Linked DNA regions of Homo sapiens: all the other regions are linked to region 2. Evidence: promoter capture Hi-C in human tissues and cell types (Jung and others, 2019). All regions are on one chromosome and are shown on one strand. The core of a region is centred on a gene start or on the middle of the fragment in contact, and the rest is flanking DNA. Distances in the headings are between cores, read along the strand shown. Region 1 overlaps LDLRAD4 (low density lipoprotein receptor class A domain containing 4). Region 2 holds the start of LDLRAD4 (low density lipoprotein receptor class A domain containing 4). Region 3 has its middle 49 kb from the start of LDLRAD4. Region 4 overlaps LDLRAD4 (low density lipoprotein receptor class A domain containing 4).

Evidence for each region. The method cuts DNA at HindIII sites, captures the fragments that hold promoters and counts their contacts. A contact is called where the count stands out against the background at its distance.
Region 1: a fragment that was not itself captured here is called in contact with the fragment with the promoter of LDLRAD4 in region 2 in 6 of the 25 tissues and cell types used here (H1 embryonic stem cells, adrenal gland, lymphoblastoid cells and 3 more).
Region 3: a contact is called between a fragment that was not itself captured here and the fragment with the promoter of LDLRAD4 in region 2, in 1 of the 25 tissues and cell types used here (mesendoderm cells).
Region 4: a contact is called between a fragment that was not itself captured here and the fragment with the promoter of LDLRAD4 in region 2, in 2 of the 25 tissues and cell types used here (aorta and dorsolateral prefrontal cortex).

Annotation. Positions count from the first base shown.
Region 1 is chr18:13,253,265-13,257,955 of GRCh38, forward strand. The region is part of intron 1 of LDLRAD4 (low density lipoprotein receptor class A domain containing 4); the gene reads left to right. Among named protein-coding and RNA genes, the nearest start is that of C18orf15, 16 kb to the left of the region's middle. The HindIII fragment of the contact is 7,509 bases long and covers 1-4,691 here.
Region 2 is chr18:13,217,510-13,222,422 of GRCh38, forward strand. It overlaps LDLRAD4 (low density lipoprotein receptor class A domain containing 4), which reads left to right and starts at 1,251. Exons shown (of 7, transcript NM_001378100.1): 1 at 1,251-1,479. RefSeq lists a silencer at 42-411. The HindIII fragment of the contact is 3,935 bases long and covers 1-1,814 here.
Region 3 is chr18:13,167,397-13,172,707 of GRCh38, forward strand. No RefSeq gene overlaps it. Among named protein-coding and RNA genes, the nearest start is that of LDLRAD4, 49 kb to the right of the region's middle. The HindIII fragment of the contact is 8,052 bases long and covers 1-5,311 here.
Region 4 is chr18:13,272,596-13,277,986 of GRCh38, forward strand. All of the region lies in intron 1 of LDLRAD4 (low density lipoprotein receptor class A domain containing 4), which reads left to right. Among named protein-coding and RNA genes, the nearest start is that of C18orf15, 36 kb to the left of the region's middle. RefSeq lists an enhancer at 1-494. The HindIII fragment of the contact is 8,231 bases long and covers 1-5,391 here.

The sequences.
Region 1 (4,691 bases), core at 986-3,485, 37 kb after region 2:
GACCCTCGCCCGGAGCCTTGCTGTGATCGGCTGTGGTGGGGAAGCTGGGCGCCACTGCTCTCAGCATGAATGTGCTCAGGCTGTTGACTGAAGGGTGTTGCTCACTCTTTTTTAAGAAGCATGATATACATCTAGGAAGAGTAATATTTTAAAAGTCTTTTTCCCTTTTCCACACCTCCGCTTGAAGGAACTCCAAAGCCTGCAGGGTAAATGAGCAGTGTTAGGATGGCCAAGAGCTCTCAGGCTGATTTAGTACTTGTGGGCAGGGCCCCTTTTCGGATTGATTATGACACATGGTGCTAATGGGGTTGATTTCTAGTGGGAGGTACAGTATGTGTTACCCTTCGAGTTCTGCAAATGAAGTGGGGGGAGGAAGGAATGCATTCAAAGAAAAGAGAGTGGAATTCGGAATAATTTTTTTTGATATTCTCTTAAAGGCACAATGATCAGAACCTGCCATGTTTTATTTCTTTTCATTAGAATTAAGCTTAGGTTCTGGGTATCGGAGCATCTCTGGCACAGGTTGTATTCACCCTTTGGCCCTCAGATGTCACTGAACAGGAAGCTGCCGGGTGAGTTTTTGATAACAAATCTCATGGCAGGATGGTGGCGCCTCCCTCGCCTGCTCACCTGCCCTCCAGGCTGGTACTCACTGAGTGCCCAGTGTGTGCCCAGCCCTAGAGCCGAGGCCGCAGAAGGCCCTGTGCTTGGGGGCTTGCTGCGATACGGGGCATCCCAGGAATCCAGGACTCAGATGAGTCAATGCAGACCTGCTGCTGGGAGATAGTGCTGGAGGGGAGGAGAGTGCTGGCAGAGAAGCATAAGCCCCGGCGAGATTCCACTGAGGGGAAGCCCAGGGATTTCTGGAGGCAGGTGATGGAGCTGAGGGCTGAACACGGACGGGCGGTGTCGCGCCGTGAAGGCAGAAGAGCCTGTCTGGGTGGAGGGCACAGCCCGAGGCCCAGGGGAGGCAGGGAGCTTTTCGGGTCCAGAGCTGATGGGGTGAGGAGTGAGGGGCCCCAGGTGGACTCAGGGTTTTCTTTTCTGAGGCTGAGTGGGATCTTATAGGCCTTGGGGAGCCATTGGAGTGTTTTCAGCAGCAGTGACAGGGTCTGTTTGCACTGGGCCACGGTCTGGAGACTGGGCAGTTTGGGGGTTGGAGGAGTTTCCCTGGCCCAGCTGAGCAGGGCTGGCGCGGACAGAGAGAATCCCGCCTCTTCAAGGTCGCTCAGCTGACCATGGGCATAGCTGGACCTAGAGTGCCAGCGACCCTCCATGCTTCTGCCAGGAAGTCCAGCGGCATCTTTCCATTCATGGTGGTTACGGAATTGGCCGAGTCCTTACTCTGACCTACAGTGAGCCTCAAGAAACAAAAATGTCCACCTGTGTTCAACAAATTAAACATGTAAAAGAACATACTGGGCGTGGTGGCCCACACCTGTCATCCCAGAGCTTTGGGAGGCTGAGGCAGGAGGATCATTTGAGCCCAAGAGTTTGAGACTAGACTGGGAAACGTAGGGAAACTGTTGTCTTTACAAAAGCCCCCAAAATTAGCTGGGCGTAGTGGCACTTGCCTGTGGTCCCAGCAACTTAGGAGCGTGAGGCATGAGAATCGCTTGAGCCCAGGAGGCAGAGGTGGCAGTGAGCTGAGATGGTTCCACTACACCCCAGCCTGGGCAACAGAACGGGACCCTGTCTCAAAAAAAGTTAAATAAAAGAAAAACCCAATTCTTCTTGTTTAATAGGGCAGCAAGACTAAAACAGTAATCATCAGATGAAATGATAGTAGAAAATATGAAATATGAACAAATGATTGAACCCGTGAGGGCTCGAGACTAAGGGGCAGAGACACAGCCAGGGTGTCTGGGTTCAGCAGATACTTCCAGAGCCCTGCTGTGTGCTGGGCACAGGGGCTGCAGACAGATGCCCGCCCCCCCCAGCCCCGGGATGCTCCACACCCAGCAGGTGCTGTTGGATACACAGTGGGAGCTCCTCCTGGCCTAGGGTCTGTGCTGGGAGAGGCAGAGGCAGACAATGGAAAGGCTCCACTCTCAACAAAGAGTGGGGTTTGATGTACTGGGGTCCGAGAAGGTAGCATTAGAGCAGGGAGTGACCATATGGGTACTGGGGAAGATTCTAGGCTGAGGCAACTCTGTGCAAAGGCTGTGGGTGAGCGGTTGCCTGGAGTGGTCAAGGCCACATGGCTGGAGAGGAGCAGGGGGTGCAGAGGGCACATGTGCATGCATGTGCACATACAGGCATGTGTGAACATATGTGTGGGTATGTGTGATTTCCCATAGGGCCCAGGGTCCAGGTGGGATGGGAGCCCTTCCAGGTTTGGAGCAGAGCAGTGTCTGGGTGTAGGTTTCCAGAGGGTCAGGGTCTCTGGGGAATAGATCACGGTGGAGGCCCAAGGGAGAGGCAGGGTGCCATAGGGGCTGTTGCAGCGTTGAGGCCCTAGGGACGGCTCCCCAGGCCAGGGCTGTGGGGTGCTTGGAGTGGAGGAGGAACCAGAGGATGCACTGAGGTGGAGAGCTGGCCGAGGGAGATGTGGTGCGTCTGAATTTCTGCTGAGCACTGGAATTCCATTTTATCAGGATGAGGATGGCTGGGGAAGGGATGGCTTTGATCATTGCTTTTATTGTGAGGAGACAATTTGTCATCAGCATTGGTGTTATTTTGGCCTGACTTTTATCACTCTTGTTCATCATGATCTTGTTTCTGCCTAACTTTCGTGCTTGCTACCCTCTTAGAAAATGATGTATCACTTATTTAGGATATTATGTGTTAATTGTTGTCCAGAAATCAAACTAAGTTTCTTTCCAAGAAAGACGTGATGTAAAGCACTTTGATTCCCTGGGAGAACAGGTGCTGTGTGTGCACAAGGTTTTGCTGCCTGATTATTCTAGGGAAAATGAGACAGTGATTATATATGTTGGCAGGACTCAGATCACAAACTGCCCTGGATGTAGGGGGAGGCTTGGGTGAATCTAAAAGCATCCTCCTGCCATTTGAGGTGAGTCCTCTCCATGTTGGGAGTAGAAATGGCTCTTCTTTTAAAATAGGGTCCCTTTCTTGGCTCTGTCTCTGAGTCACCCTCCTGGGGTCACAGATCAGCTGCATGGGCACAGGTTAGGAATGTGGTCTCAGCCTCAGCCTTGGACCCCATCCCCCCATCAAAATCTGCCTTTTAACAAGATCCAAGGGGATTCTTGTGCACCTTAAAGTTTGGGAAATACTGAGTTAGGACAGTTTTAAAACATTCTGAGGACTTCTTGCTTCGAGATCAGTATTGTATTAGGGCAGCTGGGTTTAAATCCCAGGAATGCCAGCAGGTGTGTAGGACTGGTGTGAACAGTGCTGAGTACTTGGGTCAGGTTACAGATCGACCCCACTAGCATCCAGCAATCTGGCACCCCATGGATGTTTCCATAGAGAGCCCTTTGAAAACGAGAGCCCTGGTAAGCTGGTGTGTGTGCTGGCATGGAAGAGAGAGCCTCTCTTTCCTAAGGAAGGCGTCAAAAGCAGGGGTTAGGTGAATGGAGGGAGCCCAGGCACGTCAGTGCCCAGTGTGGCAGGTGTGTGTGCCGGGGAAGGAAACCTGTGTTGTTGGAACGAAGTTGCCATTTGGCGGAATTTGGTGCACTTACTTGGAAAATATTGCCCAAAGAACTCAGAACTGTCTGTTTTCTTTTCCTTAAACATTTCTCTTGTCAGAGTGATGAGAAAATTGCCTATGTGGGAACTTGAGAAGTGCAAATTTGTTAATACTTCCTTTGACAATGGTTTGTATTCAGAGCTGTTTATGAGCTGTCACAAATCATTTCCAGTTAAAACGTTTCTGCCATGGAGTCATGCCGCGCTGGAGGGTCCGGCGGGACAGACGTGCACAGCCTCGCGGCCCTGGCTCAGAAAGGCCTGAACCCATGTGCCGTGGGTCTGGTTTTTAAGCTGGTGAATTGAATCGTGGAGAATAAAAATGACCTGGTTTCTGTGGAAACCTCTGCTTTGAAAATGTTCTTCCTTTTAATGATCTTCAGAAGCCCAGTGTCAAGGCCTGAGTGTGAGATTTCGCCATTCTTTTGATGGCTGGGACAGAGCAGAATTCAGTGCCAGTCCTTTCGTTCTGTAATGATGATGTTTGTGAGACTTGGGGATGACACTTTTGGCTCATCCCTGGTAGGACGTGGACATGCGGTTGCTTTTCCATGAGCAGGGATGGGTTTCCCTGACCCACTGCCCTGCCCCATCCATGCTGTGCTCATGGGCAGGCGTGTGTGGGGTGGCAGCCTGGGCTTCAGAGTCCGGCCTGCAGCCTGGATGTGAGACACTGAGTGATCATATAGGGGATGATTTTATAGGTCTGGATGCTTTATAGCAGTGGCTCTCACCTGGGGGTGACTTTGTTCCCCAGAGGCCATTTGACAATGTCTGGAGACATTTTTGGTTGTCACAAGTGGGAGGTGGGAGGTGCTCCTAGCATCTAGTGGGGAGAGACCAGGGATGCTGTTAGACTGCCCACAGTCCACGGGACAGCCTCATCACAAGGGTTTGTCCAACCCAATGTGTCTGTCGTGCCCAGGTTGAGAAACCTGCTTTAACAGTAGTGGTAGTTTGGATAGATGGATAATGGTAAAGATGAGAAAAGGATACAATGGGGCTGGGTGCAGTGGCTTAGGCCTGTAATGCCA
Region 2 (4,913 bases), core at 1-2,500:
CCACGGCGGCCCCGGTACCCGCGGCCTGGCCGCGCGCCGGGTCCCCACCGCGGAGTGGGAAGGAGGAGGAGAGACTGGAGGAGTTGGAGACAGACACAGCCGCGGCGCGCAGTCACGGCTGGAGACAGACGGCGGCGACGGCGGCGGGAGGCGGGACACTCCCCCCTCCGGCGACTGGAGGCGGGACACCTCCCCGGCGGCCGCAGCGCCGCGTCCCCTCTCTCCCCGCGCTGAGGCTGCGGACCGGGCCCGGCGGGATTAGCAGGCGAGTGCGTTGGCCCTGCCCGCTCCGCGCGCCGCCGCGGCCGGCCGGGGATCCCCTGCAAGCCACTGAGCCGCTGCCGCCGCTGCAGCCAGACAGGCTGCGGGTGCCTGGGAAAGTGGAAGCAGGGCGGGGAGCGCGGGGGAGGCCCGGGGGTGAGGTCCTCAGCTCTTAAAGAACCCCGGCGCGCCGCGCTCCCCGCCGGCCCGCCGCGCGCCCCCTGCCGCGCCCCGCACAGCGCCCCTCCCCCTGGCCAGCAGGGCCGGTGGCCGCGGAGCCGCACTGCGGGCAGTCCCCGCCTCCGCTCCGGGGGGGCGGCCCAGGTGAGTGCGGACCCGAGGTGGCCGCAGTGGTCGGGGCTTCTGGCCCAAGTTCACCGCTGCGCTCCGGAGGGAGGGGTGGCGGGGGACTCGGGAACCGGACGCTTTGGGAACTGGACGTCCGCGAGCCTGCGCCGTCGGCTGGGGCCGGAGGGAGAAGCTGGGCGCCGAGCGCGCGAGGTCTGTGAGGCTTGGTCCGGGTGGGCTTGCCGGTGGGCACGGCGGGGATCCGGGGCTGGCCCGCGGGCGGGGTTACGCCGGTGGAGGGACTTCGCCGACCCCCACCCCGTTTTCTGTTTCCTGGTGCCCTGGGGCGCAGGGTGTCCCGCGGTTGCAAGACTGAATTCTGCACCGCCCGGAGGCCAGGATGGGCGCGCGGATGGCAGCCCCAACTGTCTCCGCGCCCCTAGGCCTCGGCGAGCCGTGGCGGGCAGGGACTGGAGGTCAGCGGGAAGCGGGAAGATCCTGCAGGACCTGACCGGGGAGTTTGCGGGAAGGAGGGGGCGGGCCAAGCCCCGCAGCCCCTCAGTCCCGCATCCTGCACCGCGCGCTCCCCGGCCCCGGCCCCTCGGGCCCGCTTCACCCGGCGTCCCCCCGGGTCCCCCCGCGCGCGTTGACGTCGGTCGCGGGACCGCCCGGAGCTCCCGGCATTGGCTGGGAAGTCGATTGTCTGGGGCTGCTGCTGTTGCACTTAGGCTGGGTCTCCGAGCCCCGGAGGAAGCAGGCGTGTGTTGAATTTCTCTCTGCCCCTCACCTTGGAATAAACAGGAAGCGACAAGCACCCAGCCCGGCCCGGCACTTGCCTTTGTGAAGGGGTCTGCCCTGCACAGCCTTTAGGAAGCTTCCTCGGGACCCCTTCCCGGTGCGCCGCCCCGGGTGGGCCTGGGGGCGCGCCCTGTGAGTACACCGGTGGAAGACAGTGGGTTCGGTTTAGGTTAAATCGCTATCGTGGCGGAGAGGGCATTTGCTTGTTTAAACTTTTTTTTTTTTTTTTTTAATTGGAAAAGGAGAAGGTTTCCCGATGAGGCAGAGGTTTTCAGGACGACAGGGACGCATGGTGGGTGGGCGGCACTGGGGGAAGGCGCATCCGAGAGTACAGCGTTCTTGGGTCACCTACCTGGAGGGACACCTCGTCGCCAGTCAGGGCAGCTAGAAGCTCTTTAAAGCAAGCAGGACTCCTTAGCTCTGCCCAGGCACAGGAATGGTTGCTGTGTGCCCATAGCCGCATGAACTAGCATGATTTTTGTTTTTCCCCCAAAATTTTTTAATTAGCTAGAATTAGATAATTTTGATTTGCTTCTTTTCTTTTCCTCTGTGTCTTGGTCTATTCCCTTCTCTTTTTCTCTTTTCTAATTATTTTGGCATCTTCTCATCCCCGGACCAGCGCTGCTTTCTAAATGTTAATTACCATTGCAATACATATTTATTGAGGGCCTACTATGTGTTAGGCATTGTAGGATGTGAGGTAAGAGTAGCTGCACAGAATGTGGGTTCTGAGCGCTAGTATTAGTAAGTTATTTGCAGTAGAGGTGGATAGAGATGGTGAGCAGCATTGACTCTCAAAAATAGGGTCCTATGGCTGGTAAGGAGGTTGGTGCCTTCTCGAAGGGCTAGTGCTGGGAAGCTTCCTTTTAAAAACGGCCCTTTCTGCCGGTTTGGCTAGCCAAGAATGGCATCCTCCTCTCTGTATCTTCCCTGGAGCTTCAGGACTGAGTATTGAATGACAGAGAAGGTTCTGCAAAGTCTGCACAGGGAGACTGCCATTGCATCAAGTCATGTCTGCATTCTGTATATGGTATTGTCTTTTCTAGTCTTTAACTCGAGTGTGTTGTCATCTGTAACTCTCCCTTTGTACTCTGCACAATTCTTCTGGAATATAGTCTTTGTGTTCAGTCAAGGATCAGAGTGTCAAATCTGAGTCATTACATAGACAAATGAGGATGTCTGAGTATTACCCATGTATATTTATTGAATTATATTTGGTTTCCCATCAACCCTTGAAATGTTATTTGATGGACCTTTCTAAGCAGTGCTTTTTAAAACAGGGGGCTAACTTCCTTATGATCTTTGAAAGCTTAATTCTTTTTAAGAGCTTCATTTTGCTATTGACATTGAACACAGTGTTAGGAATTAGGGCTGGGAATGTAAATGCCAGTAAGGGATTTGCTGTAATGGAATTGTAGCTACCTTCCTCCCTTGTTTTAAATGACCTCTCTAATTTCTTAACATTCTGCTGTTACCCTTGGAAGGGCTTGCCATTGTTGGCCATGGTCCTGGTTCGTGTAGGTTTGTATTTACATTGGAGAAGACTCTTCCCGGCAGGTTTTTAGGGCTGTCTCTTGAATCCTCTCATGGGCTTGGTTTGCAAGACCACAATCCTGCAGTGGAACGCAGCCAGTGCCAGCTGCTTATTAAGGGATTTTGTGCCAATTTGTTGGCACATTATTTGAGACTCCTGCACCCCACCCTACTCCCACTGGAGTATATACATACATAGACAAATATTTATTTTCCCCCAACTGCTGACAGTGTTCTAAGAATAGTTTTCTTGCCTGGCACGCGGAGAGCAAGGGCCCGTCTGCAGAGGTGTTTACAGTTTGGGACTGTGCTGTAGTCTTGGTTGACTTAGCAGCCTGGCAGACCAGCCTCATAGCTCCTGGGACGCTCTCTGTTTTTGCTCTGGGCTGCTGCAGGGGTAACCTCCCTGACTGATAGGGAAGCACAGTCAGAGGAGAGTGACTTTTGCTCCTTGTGCATGGTTTCTGGCAGGCAGTCCAGCAGAGATCCCTGAGCTCCTGACGTCTCTGCATGTAGCCAGCATAAAGTCTCCTTGTGGTGGGTGGGAGGTGACTGCTCTACGTCATCACGTAAAACCAAAGCCACCTCAGGGCCCTGGGCAGGAATTCTTGAAATTGTAGACTGCTCTGATCTTTCTGGTAGTCCTTGCCATGTTTCTTCTCATCTTTCTTTGGAATCTGGGCTTATCCAGTCTCTATGATGTGTCCTTCTTCCTGTGTAAGAGTTAGTAGAGAAGGAAAAATGTTATCCCTCAAGAAGTGATAAAACATTGTAAAAGAAGAGCGCACCATATTAACCTGGAAAAATTTTTGGAAATAGTTAACAGAATGTATAGCGGCACATGGATATTAAATATGAATAGCGGCAAAATTGCTATGTAGTCCAAAATTATTCTTTTCTTTCTTCCTTCCTCTCTGTCTCCTTCCCTCTCTCCCTCTGTTCCTTCCTTTTTTTAGGTCTCAGAAAAAAATCTCCTGGAAGCCATTATTTTCTGATGTCAAAGAGACTTTCTGCCTATATGAACTGTGTTAGTTTAGAATTACATCTTGACCTATATTACGGGTGTACATGGAAGATGAGTCTTAAGTTTCAAAATAGGAATGCAAAGGTTCTGTCTACTATTTGAAAATTTAGGCCACAAGACCTGCCACTTTTTAGGGACATTTTTTGGGGGGCATTGTTTGCTTCATTGTTAGGCAGAGAAAGGACTGAAGCTAGTACCTGTACTATTAATTATGCTGAAAATATTGGGTTTGAATTTTCAGTTAATGTCATTTTTTTCCATCACAGGAGGAATTGAAAATGATGTCTGTATTGTCACATATCCATGTGATTTAAGAATGGATTGCTTTTCTTTTGAGTTCTCACTAAAAATGGTACTTTGGCCTTTTAAGCTGTTTTTGTGAAGACTTTTCTTTCCACCAAGCTTGTTTTCCAGATAGGTCTTGGAGATTACAAAGAACATAGATATAATTTCTCCCTTGATTGGCAGCTGCGAGCTTTCCCGGACAAAAATAATGCTGCACTGTGCCAAATGGTTGACTTTTCTAGAATAAAAACTCTAAAGGGTATGCAAAAAGTCCTCTGGTTAATATATTGGCATTCCCAGAACCCACTAACACTCCGGCAGCCTGCCAGACTCCACTTAACGAGGACACAGAATGTCTGGCTCAATCCCCATGAGCAGACGGGGGTGGGGTCTGGATGTCCACACCCTTTATTAATTTTTAATGACTGTACTTTTGTTTTGCAGATTTTCCTCTGTACCCCCTTCTCAACCGTCTCCTACAACGTCACTCCCCCCATCCATTTATTTACTCATTTACTTGGCATCGGAAAAATGTCGAGCTGTTCAGGGTTAAGGATCCTGCTGAGGGATCATTTCTGTTTGCATGGGTTCTTTTGTTGTTGGTTTTTTTTTCTTTTTCTTCCTTTTTTTTTTGGAAGAGGAAGAGAGAAAAGGAACAGAAAAGATGACAACTATTTTTTTTTAAGGATGCTTTATTGTCTGCTGGAAAAAGAGAAGCATTTAC
Region 3 (5,311 bases), core at 1,953-4,452, 48 kb before region 2:
ATTATCACCCAAGAATGTTGTATTCAGTGAAACTAAGCTTCATAAATGAAAGAAAGATACAGTCTTTCTCAGACAAACAAATGCTGAGAGAATTTGCCACTACCAAGCCAGCACTACAAGAACTGCTAAAAGGAGCTCTAAATCTTAAATCCTCAAAATACACCAAAATAACACCTCCTTAAAGCATAAATCTCACAGGACCTATAAAACAAAAACACAGTAAAAAACCAAAACAAAACAAGGTATTCAGGCAACTAATAGCACGATGAATGGAATAATACCTCACATCTCAATATTAACATTGAATGTAAATGGCCTAAATGCTCCACTTAAAAGATACAGAATGGCAGAATGGATAAGAATTCTCCAACCAGTTATCTGCTGTCCTCAAGAGACTCACCTAACACATAAGGACTCACAAAAATTTAAGGTAAAGGGATGGAAAAAGATATTCCATGCAAATGGACACCAAAAGTGAGCAGGAGTAGCTATTCTCGTATCAGACAAAACAAACTCTAAAGCAACAGCTGTTAAAAAAGACAAAGAGGGACATTATATAATGATAAAAGGACTTGTCCAGCAGGAAAATATCACAATCCTAAATATATATGCACCTAACACTGGAGTTCCCAAATTTATAAAACAATTACTACTAGACCTAAGAAATGAGATTGACAGCAACACAATAATAGTGGGGGACTTCAACATCCACTGACAGCACTAGACAGATCATCAAGACAGAAAGTCATTTATATCCTAAAACAAATGGACTTAACAGATATTTACAGAACATTCTACCCAACAACTGCAGAATATACATTCTATTCATGAGCACATGGAAAATTCTCCAAGATAGACCATGATAAGCCACAAAACAAGTCTCAATAAATTTAAGAAAATTGAAATCATATCAAGTACTCTCTTAGACCACAGTGGAATAAAATTGGAAGTCAATTCCAAAATGAATCCTCAGAACCATGCAAATACATGGAAATTAAATAACCTGCTCCCGAATGATCACTGGGTCAACAATAAAATCAAGATGGAAATTAAAAAATTATTTGAACTGAACGATAATAGTGACACCACCTATCAAAACCTCTGGGACTCACGCCTGTAATCCCAGCACTTAGGGAGGCCGAGGCAGGTGGATCACGAGGTCAGTAGTTTAAGACCAGCCTGGCCAAAATGGTGAAACCCTGTCTCTACTAAAAATACAAAAAAATTAGCTGGGCATGGTGGTGGGCACCTGTAATCCCAGTTACTGGGGAGGCTGAGGCAGATAATTGCTTGAACCTGGGAGGCAGAGGTTGCAGTGAGTCGAGATCTCACCACTGATCTCCAGCCTGGGCGACAGAGCAGACTCTGTCTCAAACAAACAAACAAACAAACAAACAAAAACACCAACCAAACAAAAAAACCTCTGGGATATGGCAAAGGCAGAATAAGAGGAAAGTTCATAGCCTTAAAAAATGCCAACATCAGAAAGTCTGAAAGAGCACAGACAATCGAAGGTCACACCTCAAGGAAGTAGAGAAACAAGAACAAACCAAACCCAAACCCAGCACAAGAAAAGGAATAACACAGATCAGAGCAGAACTACATGAAATTGAAACACAAAAACAACACAAAAGATAAATGAAACAAAAAGCTGAAAAGTTCTTTGGAAAATAAAATTGATAGACTAAATTAGTGAGATTAACCAAGAAAAGAAAAGATCCAAATAAGCTCAATTAGAAACTAAATGGGAGATATTACAACCAATACCACAGAAATGCAAAAGATTATTCAAGGCTACTATGAACACCTTTATGTGCATAAACTAGAAAACCTAGAGGACATAGATACATTTCTGGAAATATACATCCCTCCTAGATTAAACCAGGAAGAAATAGGAACTCTGAACAAACCAAGAACAAGCAGCTAGATTGAAATGGTAATGAAAAAATTGTCAACAACAAAGAAAAGCCCTGGATCAGACGGATTCACAACTGAATTCTATCAGACATTCAAAGAAAAATTGATACCAATCCTATTGACACTATTCCAAAATACAAAGAAAGAGGGAATCCTCCCTACATCATTCTATGAAGCCAGTAATACCCTAATGCCAACACCAGGAAAGGACATAACAAAAAAATAAAACTACAGGCCAATATCCCTGATGAATATAGATGCAAAAATCCTTAACAAAATACTAGCTAACTGAATCCAACAGCATGTAAAAAAGATACTCCACTATGATCAAGTGGGTTCACACCAGGGATGCAGGGATGGTTTAGGTTTAACACATGCAAGTAAATAAATGTGATACACCACATAAACAGAATAAAAACAAAAATCACATGAGCATCTCAATAGATGCAGAAAAAGCACTGGACAAAACCCAGCATCCCTTTATGATTAAATCCCTCAGCAAAATAGGCATAGAAGAGACATACCTGAATGTAATAAAAGCCATCAATGACAAACCCACAGCCAACATAATACTAAATGGGGAAAAGTTGAAAGCATCTCCCCCGAGAATAGAACAAGACAAGGATGCCCACCCTCACTACTTCTATTCAACATAGTGCTGGAAGTCCTAGCCAGAGCAGTCAGACAAGAGAAAGAAATAAAGGCATCCAAATTGGTAAAGAAGAAGTCAAACTGTCACTGTTTGCTGATGATATGATCATATACCTAGAAAACCCTAAAGACTCCCCCCAAAAGCTCCTAGAACTGATGGAATTCAGCAAAGTTTCAGAATACAAAATTAATGCACCCAAGTCAGTAGCTCTGCTATACACCAACAGCAACCAAGCTGAGCATTAAATCAACAATTCAATCCCTTTTACAATAGCTGCAAAAAATAAAAATAAAAAATAAAATACTTAGGAATATACCTAACTAAGGAGGTGAAAGACTTCTAGAAGGAAAACTACAAAACACTGCTGAAAGAAATCATAGATGACACAAACAAATGGAAACACATCCCATGCTCATAGATGGGTGGAACCAATATTGTGAAAATGATCATACTGCCAAAAGCAATCTACAAATTCAATGCAGTTTCCATCAAAATACTACCATCATTCTTCACAGAACTAGAAAAAGCAATCCTAAAATTCATATGGAACCAAAAAAGAGCTTGCATAGCCAAAGCAAGACTAAGCAAAAAGAACAAATCTGGAGGTATCACATTATCTGCTTCAAACTATCCTACAAGGCCATAGTCACCAAAATAGCATGGTACTGGTATAAAAATAGGCAAATAGACCAATGGAACAGAATAGAGAACCCAGAAATAAACCCAAATACCTGCAGCCAACTGATCTTTGACAAAGAAAACAAAAACATGGAGTGGGGAAAGAACACCCTATTTAACAAATCGTGCTAGGATAATTGGCAAGCCACATGTGGAAGAATGAACCTGGATCCTCACCTTTTGCATTATACAAAAATCAACTCAAGATGGATCAAGATTTAAATCTAAGACCTGAAACCATAAAAATTATAGATGATAACCTTGGAAAAACCCTTCTAGACATTAGCTTAGGCAAAGACTTCATGACCAAGAACCCAAAAGCAAATGCAACAAAAACAAAGACAAATAGATGGGACTTAATTAAACTAAAAAGCTTCTGCATAGCAAAAGAAACAATCAGCAGAGTAAACAGACAACCCACAGAGTGGGAGAAAATCTTCACAATCTATGCATCTGACAAAGGACTAATATCCAGAATCTACAAGGAGCTCAAACAAGTTAGCAAGAAAAGTATCAACAGTCCCATCAAAAAGTGAGCTAAGGACATGAATAGACAATTCTCAAAAGAAGATACACAAATGGCCAACAAACATATGAAAACATGCTCAGCATCACTAATTATCAGGGAAATGCAAATCAAAACTACAATGCTACTTTGGGGGGCCAAGGCGGGAGGATCACTTGAGGTCAGTAGTTCAAAACCAGCCTGGCCAACGTCGTGAAACCCTGTCTTCACTAAAAATACAAAAATTAGCTGGGCATGGTGGTGGGCGCCTGTAATGCCAGCTACTCGGGAGGCTGAGGCACGAAAAATGCTTAAACCTGGGAAGTGGAGGCTGCAGTGAGCTGAGATCGTGCCACGGCACTCCAGCCAGGGTGTCGGATTGAGACTCTGTCTCAAACAAACAAACAAAAAGAACACAACCAGAATGCGATACTGCCTTACTCCTGCAAGAATGGCCATAATACAAAAGAAATAATAAAAAAAAAGATGTTGGTGGGGATGCGGTGAAAAGGGAACACTTTTACATGGTTGGTGGGAATGTAGACTAGTACAGCCACTGTGGAAAACAGTGTGGAGATTCCTTAAAGAACTGAAACCATCTGATCCAGCAATCCCACTACTGGGTATCTACCCAGAGGAACGGAAGTCATTATAAGAAAAAGATACTTGCACACACATGTTTATAGCAGCACAATTTGCAATTGCAAAAATATGGTACCAGCCCAGATGCCCATCAATCAACGAGTGGATAAAGACATTGTGTTATATATACACCACGGAATACTACTTAGCCATAAAAATTAATGAAATAATGGCATCTGCAGCAACCTGGATGGAACTGGAGAGCATTATTCTAAGTGAAGTAACTCAGGAATGGAAAAACCCAACACCGTATGTTCTTATAGGTGGGAACTAAGCTATGAGGAAACAAAGGCATTAGAAGGATACAATGGACACGGGAGAATCGGGATGGGGGGGAGGGGGTGAGGGATAAAAGACTATAAATCGGGTGCCATGTACACTGCTTGGGTGATGGTGCACCAAATCTCAGAAATCACCACTAAAGAACTTACTCATGTAACCAAAACCACCTGTTTCCCAAAAACCTAGGGAAATACAAAATAAAAATACAAATAAATTTATAAAACAAATAAATATTACTAATAATGATACTTGGATATTTTATTTAGGAAGCTAATGGGATTTATTTATTTATTTATTTATTTTGAGACAGGGTTTCTCTCGTTGCTTAGGCTGGAGTGCGGTGGTGCAATCTCAGCTCACTGCAACCTCCGCCTCCTGGGTTATAGCAATTCTCCTGCCTCAGACTCCCGAGTAGCTGGGATTGCAGGTATACACCACCACGCCCAGCTAATTTTCATATTTTTTTGTAGAGATGGGGTTTCACCACGTTGGCCAGGCTGGTCTCGAACTCCTGACCTCAAGCAATCCACCAGCCTCAACCTCCCAAAGTGCTGGGATTATAGGCACGAGCCACAGTGCCTGGCTGCTAATAGGGATTTGAAAACCGGAAATATACATGTTTAAATGTCTTGGTA
Region 4 (5,391 bases), core at 2,498-4,997, 58 kb after region 2:
CCGTATGTGTTCCTCGAATCTGAAAGGCGCTGATGAAATGCTTGCTGCAGCTTTGTTAGGACACAGGCGGTCATGCTTTAGGCTGCTGCGGGGACAGAGGCATTATGCAGCCTGTAGGAGCCATGGCCAGTGCATGGTCACTCTGCATGGCAGCCTTGTAGACCCAGCTGGGACACTTCAGGGACAGCTGGAGACCTCCTGTTGCTCTTGACTGGGGTTACCATGACCGCTAGCTCTTCACTGAGGCCAGACCCAGTGAGTGCAGATTCCTGGTGCTGGCCGATGAGGCCCTAGGAAAGACGCACCTATGGTCAGTCTGTCTTGGCTTCAATTTACTCAGAATAATGTAGTCCTGTGAGAGAGAGAGAAGCTAGGGAGCTGTGGTGCATCAGCTAGTAAAGATGTTAGAAAATTGTCAAAACAAAAACGATGTGGCATTTACAGGTTGAATGCATGAATGAATGCACACGTGCATTTTATGATGTGACACTGTCCCTGATGCAAAAATCAGGTGGGTTACTGCATCTGTGGTGATGGGGTGGGTCCATCTGCAATGTTTCTGAAAAAAACATCATAAAGCAAGGTTGGTTTTGGGAAGGGTGCCTTTCTTTTCTATTTCATATGTCACCAGCTGCTCCGTGTGTTTTCTGTCCCATTATGATTTTCCTGAGATGGCTCTTCACTCTGTCTCTGGGCCTCCTTGTGTTTAATTTATTTGTTTTTGAGACAGGGTCTCACTTTGTTGCCCAGGCTGGAGTGCAGTGGTGTGATCATAGCTCACTGCAGCCTCAAACTCCTGGGCTCAAGAGATCCTCCCGCCTCAGCTTCCTGAGCAGATAGGACTATAGGTGCGCACCACCACATCCGGCTAATATTTTCTTTTTTATAGAGACAGGATCTTGCTATATTGCTCAGGCTTGTCTTGAACTTAAGCTATCCTCCCACCTTGGCCTCTCAAAGTGCTGGAATTCCAGGTGTGAGCTGCCGGACCCAGCCCCTTGTGTTTTAAATGGCTCTGCTTCCCAGGACCCAGCCACCAGCTGGAGTGAGTCCTGCTCCCCAGAAAGGCCAGAAGCCTGCGGCCAGGCTTCTCTTCAACTTTTGCCCAAACAAATTTCCCATCTTCCTTTACCTTAGAGAGTGAGAACACCGTAAAGATGAAGAATAAGCGCGCCTGCTTCCCTTCAGGGTTTTCCATCCTCCAGCCCCTCATGCAGTCCTGTCCTGGTGCAAGGGAGGTGGTGCCTGTCCCTTTTCAGGAGTTCCACCCACTCTGCCTCTTCTTGCTCTGCTTCTTAGGGGCCCATGGCTCACAGCTGTGTCTGGGACGTGTCATTCAGGAGGTGGTTTAGGGTTAGTGAGATCGGCAGCCCCACAGGACCCTGCTGTTGGAAACCCACGTGTGGATGCCCCGATGCCTGGTGCCATAGGGTATGGCGTGTGAGGAGCTCAGCCAGTGCCTTCTCTTCTCTCCTCAGCGAGCGGCTGTGCTTGCTGGCTCTCCTCGGTGGCTTCCTCTTGAATGAACCTTTCTTCTGAAGGCTTGATTTCCTTCCGGGAGGCTTAGTGTTTCTGCTCAGCCTTCTTTCTTGGAGGCCTGGGCTTGATGTTGAGTTGTGTTTGGTGAGGTTATGGAAAAAGCCTGTGTTTACTAAAACAGAGGGAGGAGGCCTGGATGGGGCATCAGGTCTGTCTTTGTGCTGTAACCTGGAGCCGTTGATCTCTTGGCTGGACCTGGGGAGGGGTCGGCCAGTGACCCCTCCAGTTCCCTGCTGGCCCCTACACAGGGGATGCTAAGCAGCAGGTCAGTGTCTATTTTCACAGCTAGAGAGTTAAAGTTATGCTGAAAGGAAGAGGTGAATTTGTTGCAGTTCTCTGCCTCGTGTCATGGAACTGCTGTTTTTAGTTTTTCTTGGCTTGGGTGTGAGAATCCTGCTGCCTGCGAGGCTAAGCATGAGGGAGAAAGCGTGGAGACGATGATCACGTTTGCTGAGTGATTGATGAAGAAGTGGGAATATATCATACAGTCCTGAATGTAGATTTCAGGGGAGTGTGACAGGTTTCTGTAATGAATAAAGTTTTTCTTTTGTACTCTTTTAAGTAATTGTATTGATTTAAATATTTTCAAATATCACTGTTATTAAAAGTAGTCCCTTTGGAATGTAAAATAGACACAATGTTGGGTAGCAGGAACTGTGTATGTGTTGAATTATTATTTTCAACAGAGCTTAAAGTCTTGATTAAAATAGTTAAAAATCATCAGTTTAAAAATGGAGTATCTTAAAGAGCTGGGCATGGTGGTGTGCACATGTAGTCCTAGCTACTGGGGAGGCTGAGGCAGGAGGATCATTTGAGTCCAGGAGTTTGAGGCTGCAGTGAGCTATGATTGTGCCTGTGAGCAGCCTCTGCACTGTAGTCTGGATACCATAGCAAGACCCTGTTTCAAAAAAAAAAAAAAATCCAGAAGAAATTTTGAAACAGGTTGCCAGGAAATTGGATTGGCATTTTGTTTTAGAATTAGAGCCTGGTCTTTTGACCCATACAGGTTTTGTCACTTTAGTTGGGAAGGAAAGATTTATTGATACTAATGGAAAATTAAAAATGAGTCACAAATTCTTACTTTGGAAATTCTCTTAGGGAGCTTTTTTGTTTTTAACCTTGAACTGTAGATAAGTAGATGCCAGAGAAGTGGCAAGGATATTTGACAAAAGTAATAACTACTGAGTGACATTTTAAGCACTGACTCAGGTTCACTGGTAAAATGAAATCAGTGCTGGAGAAGTTGTGTGTTCATTCTTTTGGGGTAGAACATGAAGCCAAATATCTTCAACCTATTTTGAAATTCAGAGCTATGGGCTCTACTCTGAAGGCTTGAATAAGTTCGGTTGCTGTGGCCTTTTTGTGACTAGACATTGGCAAATCATAGTTCTATTACTTTGGCTCACTTAAAAAAATGTTAATAGCACAACAAGCTGACTGTAGTCAATAATAACTTAATTATATATTTTAAAATTGAAGAGTGTAATTGATTGTTTGTAACTCAAAGGATAAATGCTTAACAGGATGGATACCCCATTCTGCATGATTTACTTATTTCATATTATATGCCTGTATCAAAACATCTCATGTACCCTGTAAATACATATACCTACTATGTGCACACAAAAATTAAGAATAAAAAAAATGTTAAAGGCCTCCCATGTGCCACATACTCTGCAAAGTGTTAGGGATGCCAGGATGACGGGGATGTGGTTTTTGCCCACAAGGAGCTAAAAGTTGAGTAGGAGAATGAATTTCCACTTTTGGTAGATGAGGCAGGGCAGAGGCCTGCTCTAATGTACAGATGTGTATGCGTTTAGTATATGCATATATGCTTTATATTATGTAACCCATATTTAATTACTAAGTTATTTTATTTATTTATTTATTTTGAGATAGGGTCTTATTCTGTCGCCCATGCTGGAGTGCAGTGGGTCGATCTTGGCTCACTGCAACCTCAGCCTCTTGGGTTCAAGTGGTTCTCATGCCTCAGCCTCCCGAGTAGCTGGAACTACAGGTGTGCACCACCACGCTCAGCTAATTTTTGTATTTCTTGGTAAAGATGGGGTTTCACTGTGTTGGCCAGGCTGGTCTTGAATTCCTGGCATCCTGATCCACCCGCCTCGGCCTCACAAAGTACAGGAATTACAGACATGAGCCACCGTACCTGGCCTAATTACTAAGTTACATTTATCAGTTTTCTGTTGCTGTGTAACAAATTATTATAAACTTAGGAGCTGAAAACAGTACTCATTTGTTATCTCACAGTTTCCAAGGCTCCACAGTCAGGCATGGCTTAGTTGGTTCTCTGGTCAGGCTGTAGTCAAGGTGTTGGCCAGGCTGTGTTCCCATCTGCAGGTTTGAGTATGGAAGAATCCACCTCCAGGCTCATTCATGTTGCTGGCAGAATTCATTGACTTGTAACTGCAGGACTGATGTCCCTGTTCCCTTGCTGCTTGTCAGCTAGGGGCTGCTCTCAGGTCCTGGGGAGCCCTTGTAGTGCTTTGCCAAGTGGCCCCTCACAGGCCCCATCATGAGGTGGCAGCTCGCTTCTCCAAGCCAGCAAGGGAGTCTGTCACTCCCTCGTTGCGGACTCCTATGTAGGTCGCCTGGTGTGGGGAGAAGCATTCTTTGTGGTATTCGGTTGGGTAGAAGCCAATCACAGCTTCCACCTACACTCAAGGGGAGGGAGTTGTACAGGGTGTAAGCAATTTGGGGAGTCACCTTAGAATTCTGCCCACCACAGTACCTTTCTGGTTATTTCATGGACTTCCGTTCCCAAGAAATCTGAGCGTTTGCGTCCTAGGAAGACTGGTGAGAGCAGCCCCAGTGGAGGAATAAAAACTAAGATCTGGAAAATCAGCAGTGGGTTGTTTTCATCTCTCAGCAGGCAGGAAACAGGAGGAGAAAGGAATGTCTGTAGGCTCCCAACACTGATGGGAAGGAGGTGTTTGGCTGGGGTAGAGCTCCGCAGGAATCTCCCAGGCTCCTCTAGCTAGGTGCAGCCGTGTTTTATCCGGCTGTCTTTACATGGGCTGATCACTCAGGAGTGGCATATGGCAGGAGCACGCTTTGGGGTACGAGCCTCCTGGAGAATGAACTGCAGCACACAAGCCAGACAGATGGTGGCTTAGTCCCCCTTGGACAAGAGTGTGTCCTGCACACTGGAGGGCGGGGTGCTGAGAGGCGCTTGTGGTGTCTGAGGCCGAGCTTTGCTGAGTTCACCTGAAACTGCTTTGGAGCTCGAGGCGGTCACCCGAGGATACCCGGCGCTCCACCTGGGACGGTGCGATGCCCACAGAGCATGCTCACTCAGTTGGGATGGGGATGCCAGTGACAGGTTGTATGGAATGGACAAAATCTGAAGCACCAGCTGGGAGGACACTCTCCTAACAGGATGGTGGGCAGGTAAAGGCAGCCTTGCAGGCAGAGTCACGAACGTTACCATCCCAGCAGTGTCACTGCTAGAGGGCTTGCCTCTTCCATGAAATCAGACATGTATTTCAGCAGAGGAATCACTGGGGCCTGCCCGTCTTAGGTGGGCCCATGTTGTCTTGAGACTGGATTGTCGTGAAAGAAGATGGTCTTTTCACAGCTTTTAGAGTGTGTATGAATTTTAAGAAGACCAGTCCAACAGGGATACTATCTGTTATTTGGCCTCTCATCAAAGAGGAGGCCCGTGCCTCTGCAGGAACAAGCGTGTGTCCTTTAACAGATGAGGACTCGGTGCCCCTGTGACTGAGTGGAGGCAGAGGGGGATTTTGTCCCAGTTTGGTAATTCTGTGCTGTAATTCTTCTCTCTTCCTTCCCTTTATTACTTGATGCCTATTATTGCATTTTTATTGTATTCAT